Regions from separate parts of the Homo sapiens genome. Here region 2 is linked to region 1. The links are contacts of gene promoters, found by promoter capture Hi-C in human tissues and cell types (Jung and others, 2019). All regions are on one chromosome and are shown on one strand. Each heading gives the region's core, a stretch centred on a gene start or on the middle of the fragment in contact. The rest is flanking DNA. Distances are from core to core; before and after follow the strand shown.

Evidence for each region. The method cuts DNA at HindIII sites, captures the fragments that hold promoters and counts their contacts. A contact is called where the count stands out against the background at its distance.
Region 2: a fragment that was not itself captured here is called in contact with the fragment with the promoter of TIMM8B in region 1 in 1 of the 25 tissues and cell types used here (bladder).

The regions. Positions count from the first base shown.
Region 1 is chr11:112,085,131-112,088,005 of GRCh38, reverse strand. TIMM8B (translocase of inner mitochondrial membrane 8 homolog B) reads left to right here and starts at 1,250. Exons shown (of 2, transcript NM_012459.4): 1 at 1,250-1,366; 2 at 2,544-2,875. The coding sequence starts at 1,283. The coding sequence ends at 2,711. It overlaps SDHD (succinate dehydrogenase complex subunit D), which reads right to left and starts at 1,133. Exons shown (of 4, transcript NM_003002.4): 1 at 1,047-1,133; 2 at 33-149. The coding sequence starts at 1,098. NKAPD1 (NKAP domain containing 1) reads right to left here. Exons shown (of 6, transcript NM_018195.4): 6 at 2,856-2,875. RefSeq lists enhancers at 1-169, 863-1,132, 496-1,695. The HindIII fragment of the contact is 14,912 bases long and covers 1-2,875 here.
Region 2 is chr11:112,239,035-112,243,455 of GRCh38, reverse strand. No RefSeq gene overlaps it. Among named protein-coding and RNA genes, the nearest start is that of PTS, 15 kb to the right of the region's middle. The HindIII fragment of the contact is 5,450 bases long and covers 1-4,421 here.

The sequences.
Region 1 (2,875 bases), core at 1-2,500:
CCCAGAAAGCAGCAGCGATGGAGAGAACATACAATGGTGGCTCGGTGACAAGTGTATGTGCTGCACTCCACACCATTCTGGGATAGGTCGGTCCTGAAGAAATGCTGAGATATGAGCAGGTCTGACCACTGGAGTTCGAAGCAACAGAGCTGAGGAAAGAGTCATTAGGATGATCATAAGAACCTCTCCTTTAACAGGACTGACAAACTTTCTAAATGACCATAGGTAAGCTACTTAACAATAAATAGGGGATAACATCTTATTTGTAAAATGAAGATAGCATCTATTTCACTGGGGTTACTGTGAAGTTAAGACCAGGGAACATCTGCATGTTCCCTACTTTATTTAATGACACCTCAGGCATTCTTTAACCTAACTCAGTAATCTGGAAATCATGAGAGACTTTTCCCCTAAATTCAATCGCCAAATCCTATTGGCGTATCTCTTTAACAGTTCTTGAGACAATCTTCTTTTCTTTGTGCTACTTTCCTAGTTCAGGACCTCATCTTGCCCGGACTACTATGACAGTGTTTTCCTCATCAGAATGAAAGCTCGTTGAGGGCGGGAACTACGTTTTCTTCACATTTGTATCCTAGCATTACTACAGTACCTGAGGTAACACAAATGCCCAGGTTAAATGATTTTCGAACTGATCCCCCCTCCACTCCCACATCCAAACACACCAACTCCAGAAGAAATGGGCAAGCTCCTAACCCTCTTTCCCGACTCAGGGTGGGAGCGAGTGGGGAGCATTCTAGGGACAGTGAACGGGGAGAAAACAGAACTGCTATGTGGATTAGCCTCATCAGGACTGCGACTTCCAGAGGGAGCTCTCTTTCTGATTATTCCCTCAACTCGTCAGCTCACAGCAAGTGAAATATACCTTCGGGTAAACATCTGGACCCCTAGACTACAGTGGTCATTGCTGTGATTTCGGTATTTTCTTCTCCTCAAGAGATCTCCCACCCGGCAGATGAGTCCTCACTTCCATCCCCTTCCCTGGCTGGAGGCTACGCTAAGCACCTCAGGGTGGGAAGACCCCTCACCTCGGCCTCCTAGGGCACCGCAAACGGCACTCAGCCTCCAGAGAACCGCCATCTCGTTCCTGAGGGCTCAAGGTCATCCACCAACCCGGAACCACTTAGGCGACAATTCCCACCCACGACGACGAAAGAAAACAGGGAAGAGGAAATGCTGGGTGAACCGGAAGTCGAGAGGCGGTGCACACCCGTCGCGCATGCGCAAACACAGCTGTCGGAAGGTGGCGAGCCTGAGGCGAACAATGGCGGAGCTGGGCGAAGCCGATGAAGCGGAGTTGCAGCGCCTGGTGGCCGCCGAGCAGCAGAAGGCGCAGTTTACTGCACAGGTGCGGGGACGGGGAGGGTGAAGGGAAAGGAAGTTTCACCTTCCTTGGTGGTCCTGGGCACGCTCGGAGGTCTGTACACTGGCGGCTCACTGGTGCTCGATCCCGGCTGCATCCCATTCCCCTCACGAAAGACAAAGTTATGGCTCTCCTGTCCCTGGTGACCGGTAGTGCTCAGGTGCCAGGTATATAAGCGTAGCGTGGAGAAAAGAAAAGGTGTAAAACAGGGAAGATTTGGGCGACGCAAGGGTACGGGAGACTAGTTAGCCGGCGACATGACTGGGCTGGCATTCGAAAGATCTGGGTTCTCATCCTCCCTCTGCTCCTTGCAGGCCACGTGCCCGTAGAAAAGATACTCATCCACTGTGGGTTTTGGTGTCGCCGTCACCCCACTGCCTCACTGGATTGTGAGGATCATATGCGACAATGTATTTGAAAACGACTAGAACATTATCGGAGGAAGGTGGACTCTGAAGTAGTCGCTGTAGACTATGGATGTAGAACAAGGGTTTGGAGCCCTTCGGACATGGTTCTAACGCGGCCTGACTTCTTGCTGGCTACATGACCTTGGACTACATAATCACGCCTCTTAAATGGGAGGTGATGACAGCTATCCTTGAGGACCTTAGAGAGAACTGATTTCTTAGTACCCAGCCTCACAAATAGTAAGCTCTTGGTAAAATGGTTTTTTCCTTTTGGGTGGGAGGAAGAGGGTGCTCGGATGACCAGCAAGAACCCTGGCTAGAAATCTTTGGGCCCTGAACATTCTAATGACAGTGCACATAATTTCTGTGCCTGTATGTGCATTTTTCTGGGGAGTGGATCCATAACCCCCAAAAGGTTAATGGAAGAATTACCTTGTCTAGGGGATAGGTTTGGAATAAAATGAGTGCAATAGTTTGGGAAAATTAATTGGTTCCCTAGTTGGTTCACAATGGTGCTAGCTACTTTGGGGAATATAAAAGGTTATTAGTCCTACCTGAGAATGTACAATCTGTAGGGACGAGGATCTGGATCAATATTGGTGACTAATTAGGAAATGAAGAAAGAGAAGAGCCCAAAGTGACTCCGTGGTTGATTTAAAGAATGGTTTTGTCAGGTGTCAAAAAGTGAGAAGTTAATAAACAAGAGTTAGGCCTATCTGCAGACCCCAATGGTTACTATTTTTCTTTCCTTTTAGGTGCATCACTTCATGGAGTTATGTTGGGATAAATGTGTGGAGAAGCCAGGGAATCGCCTAGACTCTCGCACTGAAAATTGTCTCTCCAGCTGTGTAGACCGCTTCATTGACACCACTCTTGCCATCACCAGTCGGTTTGCCCAGATTGTACAGAAAGGAGGGCAGTAGGCCATCCCCCAGGAGAATGACAGAAGCAAAGGACTTGTTACTAAGCAGATTTAAGGGTCAGTGGGGGAAGGCTATCAACCCATTGTCAGATCAGCATCAGGCTGTTATCAAGTCTGTTGGTGCTAAAAAGTAAAAGATGAAATGTTCAAAGAGTGAAATTTATT
Region 2 (4,421 bases), core at 889-3,388, 150 kb before region 1:
ATAGTACACTCATAAATTCTTGCTGAAATCAATAATTACACAAGAGAATAACAATACTAATAGCCTGTCGTAAATTGACCCCAAGTCTTTTTAATAAAGCACACTTTTTTTTAATTATACTTTAAGTTCTGGGATACACATACAGAATGTGGTTTGTTACGTAGGTATACATGTGTCATGGTGGTTTGCTGCACCCATCAACCCAGCATCTATATTAGGTATTTCTCCTAATGCTGTCCCTCCTCCTGCCCCCTGACAGGCCCCAGTGTGTGATGTTCCCCTCCCTTTGTCCATGTGTTCTCATTGTTCAACTCCCACTTATGAGTGAGAACATGTGGTGTTTGGTTTTCTGTTCCTGTGTTAGTTTGCTGAGAATGATGGTTTCCAGCTTCATCCACGTCCCCGCAAAGGACATGAACTCATTCTTTTTTATGGCCACATAGTATTCCATGGTGTATATGTGCCACATTTTTTTTATCCAGTCTATCATTGATGGGCATTTGAGTTGGTTCCAAGTCTTTGCTATTGTAAATAGTGCTGCAATAAACATACGATAAAGCACATTATTCTTAGCCCTTATGTAATCAAAAATCAGGTTCAGTCACATGCCACTTACAGAGTCCAGTTAACAAGAGCAAGATCTGGTATAAAGAAAGTGACTTTTGGCTGGGCACGGTGGCTCATGCCTGTAATCCCAGCACTTTGGAGGCCGAGGTGGGCGGATCATGAGGTCAGGAGATCGAGACCATCCTGGCTAACACGGTGAAACCCCATCTCTACTAAAAATACAAAAAATTAGCAGGACGTGGTGGCGGGTGCCTGTAGTCCCAGCTACTCAGGAGGCTGAGGCAGGAGAATGGCGTGAACCCGGGAGGCGGAGCTTGCAGTGAGCCGAGATCACGCCACTGCACTCCAGCCTGGGCGACAGAGCGAGACTCCATTTCAAAAAAAAAAGAAAGAAAAGAAAAAGAAAAAGAAAAAAGAAAGTGACTTTTTATTCCAAAGCTAGCTTAGAGGAAGACGTAAAGGCTCCTGCCTTTCAGGGTACCACTTCCCTTTTGGAGCAGAAAGCAGGTGCTTTTAAAGGGGGACTTGGCATGTTAGATGAACTTGCCCTGTAGGGAGTAGCTGGTGAAGGGAGGTAAAAGGTTATAATTGCATTTCTGAAGAGCTAAGTAGGAAGTTGGGAGCAGGGGGAAAGCAGAAAGAAAAAAGAACAAATAATAATAATTTAAAAAATAACTCTTTTTCTTAGACAAACGGGAGTACTCAGTTACACTAATATCCTATATAAGCAAGCATCATGTTTGAGGTAGGGGTGTTCCTCCTCTTGCTTTCTGAGGACATCTTACTCTTTAATAAGAGTAGTTTCTAATAAACCATCTTAACTTCACCAGACTCTGTGATTCACCCTGAATTCTTTCCTGTGTGAGGTCCAAGAACCCGGTCTTTGGGTCTGGTCTGAGACCCCTTTACAGAAACACACAGACATCAACCTGCTCTCACATGTGGGTGGAATATGCTATACCCCACAATCTGGTTAAGTTGCATTTTTTTTCTTTTGCAAACACCATTTTCCCCTTCAAGAATGGAGCCTTGACTCTCCGCCTAGTAATCTGGGAATTACTGAGGGTTATTACAGCAACAAATTAGGAGGCTCACATTTGCCAGAAAATAAATATTGCCTCAGTGTTACCACAAATGAGGTCAGTTCCACATTCCAGAAGGAATCCTGCTCTCGCGGCCAAACAGATAGAATGATAAAGAGCATTCTTTGCAAAATCAGCTGAGGCTCTCCCTGCCTAAGACAAATCTATTCTCCAACAGCTGGGAGAGAGACAAATACATGCAACCTTTATTGTTTACCCTGCTAAAAGGGAGGCCCCTTGTGTGGTCATGAGGATGGCCATTTACCAAAAGGGCTGGGATTTAGAGTTCTGGCTTATCTTTACCTAAATCAGTAGTTGAAGACTAAAACAAATTGTATCCACAAATAGCAATGGAAAATTCCCAGGAAGATTAAGTTAGGCAGATAAACAGCTTTGAAGGAATACTTACGAAATTTTATTTTATATTGTAGTGGTTGTTCTCTAAGCTGAGCTGCATAAAGAATAACACCTATCTGAATGATGCTCAAGAAGTTTGGCATTAGACCAGATGCAGTGGCTCATGCCTATAATCCCAGCACTTTGGGAGGCCAAGGCAGGAGGATCACTTGAGCCCAGGAGTTCAAGACTATCCTGGGCAACATAGCAACATCTTTGTCTCTACTAAAAATCTATCTATCTGTCTATCTATCTATCTATCTATCTGTCTATCTATCTAATATAAATTAACCAGACATGGTGGTATACACTTGTAGTCTAGCTATTAAATCTCAAAAAATTTACCAAACCAGATTACTAGATTCACCACTTCTTTAGAGATGGCAGGCACATTCATTCATCCTGTAAATAATTATTCAGCACCTGTTGTATGGCAGGCATTACACTAGGTCCTGGGGAGACAAGAATGAACCAGACAGACAGGGCTTCAGCCCTTGTGAAGCTGACACCCTCGTGGTTGGGATGGACAGTAAACTAGTGAAAAAGACAAAAGGAAGCAAATATACAAAACTTTAAAACTGCAAGAAAGAGGAGTATATGGTATTGTCCTAGAATACAACAAGGTTCTATCTATACGGCTGGCCTGAGGAAGGCTTCTCCAAGAGGGTGACATGTAAGCTGAGATCTGAAGAATGCTTAGGTTTTTCTGCAGGGGATTTAGGGGAGCGGCAGTTCAGGGAGAAGGGCAGTAAATGCAGAGCTCTAGAGACAGGAATGGAATTGGTGCGTCTGAGGACTTCAGAGCAGGCTAATGTAACCAAAACAGTGAAGGGCTTGAGGCTGGGAAGCAGGCAGGGACTGGATCCTATCAGGCTTGGTAGATAGTGTGGGGAGTTTGGATTATATTCCTAAAGCAGGAGGAAGCTTTCAAGTGGTGATACGGGGGAGGGAAGTGACAAGATCTAATTTACTCTTTTAGAAAGATCCATAGGATTGTGGAACAGAACTAAAGGGGAAGGCAGAGACCAGTTAAGAGGCCATGTCAGTAATCCAAGCAAGAAACAGTGGCGGTTTGGACTCATGTGGTGACATCAGAAATGAGAGACAGGGCCAGACGCGGTGGCTCACGCCTGTAATCCCAGCACATTGGGAGGCCAAGGCGGGCAGATCACCTGAGGTAAGGAGTTCAAGACCAGCCTAGCCAACATGGTGAAACCCCGTCTCTACTAAAAATATAAAAATTAGCCAGGCATGGTGGCACACAACTGTAATCCCAGCTACTCGGAAGGGTGAGGCAGGAGAATCACTTGAATTTGGGAGGCGGAAGCTGCACTGAGTCAAGATCGCGCCACTGCACTCCAGCCTGGGTGACAGAGCAATACTCAGTTCCCCCCCGCCCAAAAAAAAAAGAAAACTAAAAAACGAGAGACAGACAAAAACCATTATACATGTTGGAGGTAGAACCAGAACCTTCTGATAGATTAGATTTAAGAGGTGGGAAGGGGAAGGAGTAGGTCAAAAAGAACTCCCAGGTTTCTCATTTGAAAAAATGAATGGGGCCGGGTGCAGTGGCTCATGCCCATAATCCCAGCACTTTGGGAGGCTGAGGCGGGCAGATCATTTGAGGCCAGGAGTTCAAGACCAACCTGGCCAACATGGTGAAACCCCGTCTCTACTAAAATTACAAAAACTAGCTGGGTATGGTGGCGGGTGCCTGTAATCCCAGCTACTCAGGAGGCTGAGGCATGAGAATCACTTGAACCCGGGAGGCAGAGGCTTCAGTGCGCCAAGATCACGCCACTGCACTCCAGTCTGGGCAACAGAGTGAGAATCTGTCTTCAAAAAAAAGAATGGATGGTTGTGGCATTATTAAGGAAGACTGGCAGACGGACAGGTTTTGAAGGAGAAATCAGAAATTCATGTTTGGAAATGTTAAGTTTGAGGTGCCCACAGGACGCCCATCAGTGGCTCTATCTGTGGTCAAGTAAAATTTTCAATAGGTAAAAGACACACTAATCCCTTTATTTCTTCATGTTGTTTGTAGCCACAGTGCTTGCATCTATGAAGATACTTGTGAAAAGTGAAAAGGGTTTGAAAACTTGGTTCAGATTATTATCATACTAACTTGAGAATTTTCACTGAATAATAAACTGGCTTGATAAGGGCAAATATGGGCTTAAGTACTCAGTACTTGTTTCTTGGCCTTTTTTTTTTTTTTTTTTTTTTGAGACAGAGTCTTGCCCTGTTGCCCCGGATGGAGTGCAGTGGAACAATTATGGCTCACTGCAGCCTTGATCTCCCAGGCTCAATCAATACCCCCACCTCAGCCTCCTGAATAGCTGGAACTACAGATGCATGCCACCATGCCTGGCTAAT